Linked DNA regions of Homo sapiens: region 1 is linked to region 2. The links are contacts of gene promoters, found by promoter capture Hi-C in human tissues and cell types (Jung and others, 2019). All regions are on one chromosome and are shown on one strand. The core of a region is centred on a gene start or on the middle of the fragment in contact, and the rest is flanking DNA. Distances in the headings are between cores, read along the strand shown. Region 1 overlaps SMC6 (structural maintenance of chromosomes 6). Region 2 holds the start of RAD51AP2 (RAD51 associated protein 2).

The links. The method cuts DNA at HindIII sites, captures the fragments that hold promoters and counts their contacts. A contact is called where the count stands out against the background at its distance.
Region 1: a fragment that was not itself captured here is called in contact with the fragment with the promoter of RAD51AP2 in region 2 in 1 of the 25 tissues and cell types used here (aorta).

The regions. Positions count from the first base shown.
Region 1 is chr2:17,667,025-17,671,673 of GRCh38, reverse strand. It overlaps SMC6 (structural maintenance of chromosomes 6), which reads left to right. Exons shown (of 28, transcript NM_001142286.2): 26 at 1,099-1,251. Among named protein-coding and RNA genes, the nearest start is that of SMC6, 84 kb to the left of the region's middle. The HindIII fragment of the contact is 3,152 bases long and covers 430-3,581 here.
Region 2 is chr2:17,516,340-17,521,260 of GRCh38, reverse strand. RAD51AP2 (RAD51 associated protein 2) reads left to right here and starts at 2,821. Exons shown (of 3, transcript NM_001099218.3): 1 at 2,821-4,921. The coding sequence starts at 2,846. RefSeq lists a silencer at 2,549-2,798 and enhancers at 2,560-3,109, 2,094-3,293. The HindIII fragment of the contact is 4,842 bases long and covers 1,079-4,921 here.

The sequences.
Region 1 (4,649 bases), core at 756-3,255, 150 kb before region 2:
ATTTTATTTAGAATTCAAAATAAATACAATACAAAAGAAATTTTTTTTTTTTTTTTTTTTTTTTTGAGACGGGGTCTCGCTCTGTCGACCAGGCTGGAGTGCAATGGCATGATCTTGGCTCACTGCAACCTCTGTCTCCCAGGCTCAAGCAATCCTCCCACCTCAGCCTCCCAAGTAGTTGGGACCACAGGAGTATGCCACCATGGCCAGCTAGTTTTTGTATTTTTGTGTGTGTGTGTGTGGAGATGAGGTTTCCCCATGTTGCCCAGGCTGGTCTCGAACTTCTAGGGTTCCTTTAAAGGATTCCTAAAGCAATCCTTTAAATCTTTTAAAAGATATATTTCAATGCATTTCTTTGGCCAGTGTAAGCTTTTTAAAGTTGATTTCTGTCCTTTTGACGTTCAGTAATCACTTTTAATGCAGCTTAACCACTAGGTGTCACTATAATTCAAGTAACAAAAAATCTCAGCACTTTTAAATGTTTGAAGCTTAAGTTTCAGGGTTAGGTGTGGTGGCTTACACCTGTAATCCCAGCACTTTGGGAAGCTGAGATGGGAGGATTGCTTGAACCGAGGAGTTCAAGACCAGCCTGGGCAACATGGAGAAACCTCAACTCCACCCAGAAAAAAAAAAAAAACACAAAAATTAGCTGGCCGTGGTGGCATACTCCTGTGGTCCCAACTACTTGGGAGGCTGAGGTGGGAGGATTGCTTGAGCCTGGGAGACAGAGGTTGCAGTGAGCCAAGATCACACCATTGCACTCCAGCCTGGTTCAACAGAGCGAGACCCTGTTTCAGAAAAAAAATTGTTTTATTAACATTTTTTAAATTAGCCTTTGGAATTTTGGTCTGTTAGATTCAGTTATGGTGAAAAAGGTTTTCAGTTTTATTCTCTTGCAGTAGAGCAAGAAGTACCATTATACGTATAACTGTTTTACTGTAAAATTTTTTGAAAGGAATGGGTATTTCCAAATCACTAAGTCATTTTATTCCCATCTCCTTTTTACTGTAAATCTATTATTTATCTGTCTTGTAAAGAATTTAATCTGGCCTTTCATTTACTTAGTTTTTTGTTCCTTGTCAACTCATTCTCTTCAAGGTTCAGCCTGGAGAAGGAAATAAAGCTGCTTTCAATGACATGAGAGCCTTGTCTGGAGGTGAACGTTCTTTCTCCACAGTGTGTTTTATTCTTTCCCTGTGGTCCATCGCAGAATCTCCTTTCAGATGCCTGGATGAATTTGATGTCTACATGGTATTGTTAAATTTTAAATTCTCTTTTTCATTTTTTTGTTTGTTTGAAACATGTATTTCTAAAGGAAGGAAATCTTTCTTTAGTTTTACCCCTAACAGGAAAGATCCTGCCCTGACTCTTTAGTCTGTGACCAGTAGTGGGGAAGAACTAAAGAACTAGAGTTCTCTCCCTTGCTTCTAGGCACACAGTAACCCTAGAGACCCTGGAGGGGTCCTCCTCTTCTCGCCCAGCATGGATATCCGTGCCTTCCATCATATCTGCGTTTTCTCCCTCACCCTCTCTCCCAGCTTATTTTCATCAACCCATAAATATGTTCAGACTTTTTGTTTTAATACAAAATTATAACCTGTTCACCACCCTGGCTTTGACTCACCCTAGCCACTGTTTACTGTTCCTTCATACCCACACATTTCAGAACAATGTACAGAACATAAGCGAGCAAGAACTTTTGAATTTCCAGTTAAAAAGCATAGGATTTGAGACCTACCTCTGACAGGCAAAATATCTCTACTTATTGGGTCTCAATTTCTTCATCTACAAAACAATATTATTACCAATTCCTACCTCTCATGGTTAGAGTGAGGCTCAAATGGTGTCTTTCATACATTATACTTACTGTGGTTCAGGCATATAGTAAGTTCTCATAAATTAGCAATTATTTTCTTCTTCATATCTCATTGTTTGCTCAATCTACTGTAATCTGGATGTAGATGACACTACTCTAGCAAAACTTGTTTAGCAAAGGTTATAAATGAGCTTTAATCTTACCTTATTTTTTGAAGTATTTGACACCACAGACCTATCCTCCATCCCTTAAAATGTCTTCTTACCAGCTGCCACCCTCTCTTTCCTGGTTTTCCTGTTTTTCTATTATTTGTTCTTAATCTGCCAAGCTGCCTCCCCTAATTCTGTTGCCCTTAAACGTTTGAGATCTTTGTTTGCTTGTTATAGTGTTGTTGATTTTCCTGAATTCCATATCCTACTTCCCCCTACAAATATACACATATCACAGTCCCCAAAACTACTACCTGCGTATGGACAGATACCTATCAACTCATAGCACCACATCCTGACATCTCTCCTGTACTCTAGACCCAGATGCCCTACTACCTATTAGACATCACCTGGTAAACCACCAATATCTGAAATTCAGCAGCCCCGAGGTTGAAAGTGCCTTCATCTCAAAGCCTCTTTCTTTTCCTGAATTCCCTACCTTGATTAATGCAAACTGTCATTTCCAGCGCAGTCACCTACCTTTGACATCTGTGATTTACCTTTGATTCTTCCTTGTTCAAGTCTGACCTCTGTCCGCTTCTCCTTTAAGACCGCTCTTTGGTCTCTGCCCTCTTCTCCTTTCTCACTGATATTCTTCCTCTCATCCCCTTATCTTCGCCTCATACCTGTGGTGATAGCCTCTTCTCCGGACTCCCAGGCTTGCATGTGGCTCCTTCTTCGGTCCGTCCTCCACCATTTTGGCAGGTTTACATTTCTACAGTTGATCTGATGGTGGTCATTCACCTATGTAAAACCCTTTGGAGGTTATTATATATGGAATAAATGTTTAATTCTGTAGGGTAGCTTTGAGACCCTTCATGATATCGTACCTGCCTGCTTTTTTCAGCTGTTCTAAGCTATTTGTAATTCTCCAAACATGGTGCCTCTGCCTGGTATGCCCTCCTTAATCACATGTCACTCTACTCATCTTTCAGGACATTGTTCAAATGCCACTTTTATGAGACTTCTGTGACCACCATACCCTATCAGGCAGGATGAGGAACTTCTCAGAACTTCCTTTGCACCACCTTACATCAACTCATAATATATATTACTTTTATACTTTTATTTAAGATAAAAATATAAAAATGCTTTATATTATTATATAATATTTTATACTGTTTTTTATTCTGTTGCAGTTGCCCATTTTTATATCTGAATCCCCTACCAGATTGTAACCATTTTGAGGTTATCAGCTATGTCTGAGATGTTTATGTCTCCTAATGCCTAGTCTATAATGACCGTTTAGTAAGTGTGTATTCGTGAATCAGAATTTATACCTGTGAGTGCTGTATAATAGTTCAGTGTCAATTTTTTTCTATGATACTATTGCTGAAAATGGGTTAGATATTCCTCCAAGAATTGTCTTCAGAGCTAATCACGAGTCATAGAAGATGATTATTCTTTCCATGCAGTGTTTTTGTCCAGAATGGTGCTGTGCAGTCTTATCACTCATCTTGTATGTCAGATTTAATTCTAAGCAGCTCCTTTCTCTTTCAGAAACTTAGAGCTTCTTAATCAGAGTGGCACTTTGCCCCAATGAAATTATTCAGAAGAATGTATCCAAGTTCTGTGAGCTAATCCAAGGAAAACAAATTTTTTTTTGGTACTTTGGCAGTTTTGTTATAAAATAATAGGCCTCTCACAGCAGATATGCCTGATGGAATTGTTATAATCAGAGCCATTGAGCAATATAGCCAGGATGTGTATCCCATTTTGACTCCACAGCCCTTGTTCTAAATCACCATGCTGTATTGCCACATACAGTTTTATTTTTTATTTATTTACTTATTTTTTTCAGGACACAGTCTCGTTCTGTTACCCAGGCTGGAGTGCAGTGGCGTGATTTCAGCTCACTGCGACCTCCGCCTCCTGGATTCAATTGATCCTTGTGACTCAGCCACCTGAGTAGCTGGGATTACAGGTGTGCACCACCATGCCCGGCTAATTTTTGTATTTTTTGTAGAGACTGGGTTTTGCCATATTGGCCAGGCTGATCTCGAGCTCCTGGCCTCAAGTGATCCACCTGCCTCAATCTCCCAAAGTGCTGGGATTAAAGGCATGAGCTGCTGCGCCCGGCACCACATATAGTATTAAATTAAGACCTTTAAAATATACATGTTCATATGTCAATGATTTCAACTTTTAGGAATTTTCAAGGGAATTGAGGAACACTTTGATTTTCTTTTACTGTTACTTAACTCAGAAAATGTAGCCACAGGTCTAGACCATTTAATCCCAAAACCTATTATAACGAAGCATTATTCTTTGTCTATACCCTGATGTGCTATTTAACTTATTTAAAGATATAATTGAGAAATTGGTCTGTAAGTTCAAATTGGTTTATATTGTACAAATGGTAGAGGTAATGGGGAGAGGCAGACTTTTTAAAACTTAACCTTTATCATTGAGGGAAAATTTGAGAGACTTAATGAATTTGAGACTAGCCACTTTTGTTACCATTACCCTGACTCATTAACCATTACTGTACAAATTAGATTTATTCTCTAACATTTAGTTGTGTCAGGAGAATATTTTCTGATTATTTCAATTGCTACACGTATTTGAGGGAGGGGGCTGTGTATACAAATATTTTGACTATAGAAATTACCTGAAAGACATAT
Region 2 (4,921 bases), core at 1,572-4,071:
AAAAGCAAGTCTCTAATGTATAAAACTAAAGCAAAATAACACAAAAACAAGAAACTTAAGGCACTTTCAAGACACCATGAATCCATTTGAGTTGGTAAATGAGTATTAACCATGGAGTCATTTCATTTCTTCTAATTAACTGAGGTACTTAGAGGCACTGGGGATACAAAAATTAATAAATCCTTGTCCTGATTAATGGAGCCTAGTGGAGGGGACATATAAACAACTCAATACAATAAAGACATTTTAAGTGTTCTACAGTTAGAAATAAATTGCTATAGGAAACAGATGACGATGCAAGTAATTCTGCCCAGGGATTGGCTACAGCAGGGAGGAGGAAGAGAAGCTTTCACCGTAGAGGTAACTTTTGAGTAGGGCCATTTAAGGCTTAATAAGAATTTGCCAGGAGGAGAAATGAAGGGCTTTGAGAACATACATAAAAGAGCAAGAAAATAAACATTCTGGTGTAGGCAGCATGGGGGCAAATTGTTTAAAAAAAAAAAAAGAAGCTGAAAGAGTTAAGTAGGACCTAGTAGTGAGGATGTGACATACTATGCTTAAGGACATTAGACTTGATATTGATATTGAGTAAATTTCTGATTTAACTCTAATAGGAGATTGTGTCATATCTTCAGTATGGGGTTTATCTCATGAACTCATTAATCCTTTTATTCATTCAGAGTTGAACTATAAGAAGACACCACGCTAAAAGAAATCAGATAGATGCTGTCTTTAAAGCTCAGTTTACTGTTACTAAGGAAGGTAAGAACTTCAAAGGAAGGGTTGGGTAAAGTGATATAGAAAAATATGACATTTGAAATGGGCTTTGAGGCATCAGTAAGATTCAGACAAGTCTTATTTATATTTTGATTATGATGAGTTGAAGACATAATTTTTTGCATTTCTCACTTATAACTGGTTCATTTTCTAGGTGGCATTTAAAAAAACAAAGGAAAAAACCCACATAAATAGTGGTTTCAATAGCCATTGTTTGAAATGGCAGTGGCCATTAGTATAATGTTTAAATAAGTAAATGCAAGAAAAGACTCTTTTTTTGGTCTTTATGGCTGTAAGTTTCTTCAGGATGGAGAAAATAACTATACATTTCTGTATCTTGGAGTCAAACAATTGTTGAGTTACATGTAATACTTCTGGGTTTTATTTGAATTTTAATCCTTAAACAATGTAGAGTTGTTAAATAATGATGTGATGGAGATATAAAAAATAATGTGCTCTTGGGCAAACTAGCAAGATGAAGAAATAATCAAATATCAAGTTACAGATCAATCTAGACTAGAAATCACAATCAATGGCATTTACTTTACAGATTTAAAAAGTCTTGGTCCTAATATCACACTAGCGCACCAATTATATACACCTTAGCTATACAAGTCACCCCTTATGGGCTAAAACAGAATGGATTAGAAAAGAATATAGATTTGTGGAAAATCTGGGATAGAAAAGCAATAGAACATAAGATACACAGAAGTAGAACTTGGAGAATTCACTGATGTGGAATCTGAACCACTGCCACATTCTTATTTATAGTGTTAATGAAGTGCTTCTGCTGCAAGGCTTTCTACAAACTTAAGTAAACATTTCTCTAGAGGAATTTACACTGAAGTAATCACAATGTATCTAAGAGTATTTAAAAAACATGAAACTGGTGAACATCTTATTACCTAAAGTAGAAGGCTAGTTATATATTGCCATCTATGCCATGGGAGGGTTCTGAAGTTAGGATTCTGGTTGCATGTTATTGTAGTTATTATAAATTTTAGCATAAAATGTAATATAAAACATACCAAGCTTGAAACAACCACCAAGGGAATCGAGGTGTTTATTACTGAGCACCAGTTACATGTTTCTTAAGAAACATGTATATAATAATAATAAACATTTTGAAAAACATTTTCTTCTTAATGATTATAGAATTCACAAAAACCAGAATTGACTGGAAATCATAAATGATTCTCAAAGCAGGAAAAAAAAAAACAAGAAATAGCGTCTAAAAATTTGTTAGTAGGTATGAGTCAGACCTGTATTATTATGTTTACACTAAATGGGGTAGTTCAAACATATAATATTTTATCTCTAAATAATTTTATCCACAATATTTGAGAAGAAATCCCCACAGCACATAGTAAACTATTTTTTTTTTAGTCTTAAGTGAAGAATAATAATTATCCGGATAATAATTTCCACACATTTTTTCCTCAGATAGACTGGTAAGTACTGGTGGCTTTTTTCCCCCAAACACACTTTATTAGTGAAGTGGAAATATTAATATGATCTTAAGTGACGCTGGAAGGATTAAAAAGTTTTTCCATACACAGAGAGATTTGGTCTGGTGCTGACAGAACTACACGATTTTACTGGAGAGTCACTCGAGCCGTTGTGGAGATGCCGTTTCTGAGGTAAACAAAATTTTAGAATTTAGAAAATAAAGTTGTTACCATTCACAAATTTTTTTTTTTTAAGTGAGAGGTTCTAACTTTTCCCCTTCGTTCTACCACAGGGAAAAAAGCATTTAGACTCTCTACAGTCGTGGCATTAGAAAAAGGCGCTAAAAATAGACAATGTAACGGCCCAGGGTGCTCCGACCTTCAGTGGTGAGACAACCGGGGCGCGTGGGTGGGGGCAGGGAGAGGAGGGACTGAGGGAGGCGGGGCGGGGCTGAGGCTGGGGCTGTGGAGGGGCGGATTCGGGGTGGGGCAAACCCTGAGATTAGGCTAAGGCCAGGTCTTGAGGGGCGGGTCAGGGGCGTGACCAGAGCGGCCCGGAACCGCCTATTAAGGGATTGGAGCCCCGCCGGGACTCGGACAGATCCTTTCCATTCGCTGTCATGTCTCTCCCTCAGCCCACGCCGCGGATGGCCGAGCTCAGAAAGCCTACCTCCTCTTTAACGCCTCCTGAGGACCCGGATTCCCAACCACCTAGTAGCAAGCGGCTCTGTCTTGAGGAGCCTGGAGGTGTCTTTAAGGCGGGCTGGCGACTGCCTCTGGTGCCTCGCTTGTCTGAGGCGGAAAAAGTCTGGGAGTTGTCCCCTAGACCCTTCAAGGGACTCCTTGTTTCAACGAATGCTATTTTCGATAACTCCACAGACTCGTGTGTGGAGAAATCAGTCAGTGGGAAGCAGATATGTAATCTGAAATGCTCAAATCTCAAATTCCAAATGAGTAGCTGTTTGCAGTCTCCCCCCTCACAAAGTCCTGATTCTGATTTGAGGGCTTCAGGAAGGTCTGAGGCAGGCCTGCATGACAGAGAGGCTTTCAGTGTGCACCGCAGTAATAGCTCCAAAGCAGGGGTTAGTCAACTTCTGCCCAGCACCTCTATACACGATATACATGGAATTAGAAATGAGAATCGAAAACAACAGTTTGTCCAAGGAAGAGACAATGTTCACAAAGAAAATCCATTTTTAGATGTTACCTTTTACAAGGAAACTAAATCACCATTTCATGAAATTAAGAACAGATGTAAAGCTAACAGTGTTGTGCCATCAAATAAAAGAGAAAATAACATTTCATCATCTGTACTAAAAATATCAAAATCTCAAAACCAGCCCAGCTTGGAAATTGCCAAACCTAGCTATTTTAGAGATAGCGGCACAATAAGTGTCCCTCAGTTTCCAATGGACTTAAATAGCAAAATGTCCTCTGTCTATTTAAAGGAAATAGCGAAGAAAAAGAATGACAAAAAAGAGGCATATGTTAGGGATTTCACAAACATTTACTGGTCCCAAAATAGACCTGATGTTAAGAAGCAAAAGTTACAGAATGATAAAAAAACTGTAGAAGCGGAAAACATTTTTTCCAAATGTTATGAAAATGACTACCCATCACTCAGTAGCCAAAATACTTGTAAGAGAAAAGACTTGATCAGTTCAAACTACTGTAACTGCAGTAGTATCCAGTGTAATGTAAGAGACTCTAGAAAGAATTTCGCTATACTAGAAAATGCAAATTGGGAGGAAGCAGAATGTCTGGACAGTTACGTACTTACCAGGCTGGAAAAATCTCAAAACTGGGACTGTAACGTTAGACATATTTTGAGAAGAAATAGAGGAAATTGTTGGATTATAAATAATTGCAAGACTAAATGTGAAAATATGAAAAAAACTGAAGAAAAATGGAATTGGCTATTATTATTAGAAATAGACCTTTTAAGCAAGGAAGATTACCACTGTGCAAAAGTCATCAATGCATATGAAGAACAATCAAAGCTTCTCGTAAGAGAAATATTAGGTAGTCAGACAGCTTTAATAACGACTGTTTGGCTAAATGGTAAAGGAGAAAATGATAATACTCTACAGTTGAGATACAATACTACACAAAAAGTCTTTCATGTGAACAACCCTTTTGAAAGTTTCATTATAGAAATTTTTTATTTCCATAAAAGTATTTCAGGAAATAAAAAAGATAATAGTATTTTAACCTGCTGTAACATTTTGAAGTGTAAAAAGCAAATTGGTATAATTGGTATTCAAAATCTAATAACCAGAAACATGAATACAAATATAAAGAATGGAATTTTAAGCATATATTTACAAGATAGTGTTTCAGAACCTTTAGATATTCTATTGAAAACTAACATAGCTTTTTTGCTCAATAACTTTGACTCTTTAACAAGAATTGAAAATGATTTTGAATTAGAAGAGGAATGCATTTTCAAGTGCATGCTTTATTTGAAGTATCCAAAAAATATAGTGGAAAATCATACTGCATATCTAGTAAAGATTTTAACTTCTTCAAGACTATTAGAAGATAATATGAAACCTATGTTAAAGAAAAGGAAGTTATTTAGAACTGAACAAGTTTTTGAAAAGTCTAAGAAAAAACTCATTAATTCCTTCAGTATGACAACTCAAAATACAGGTTTTCCGATTTTTGAAACATATGAAAAAATTCCCCTTTTAATG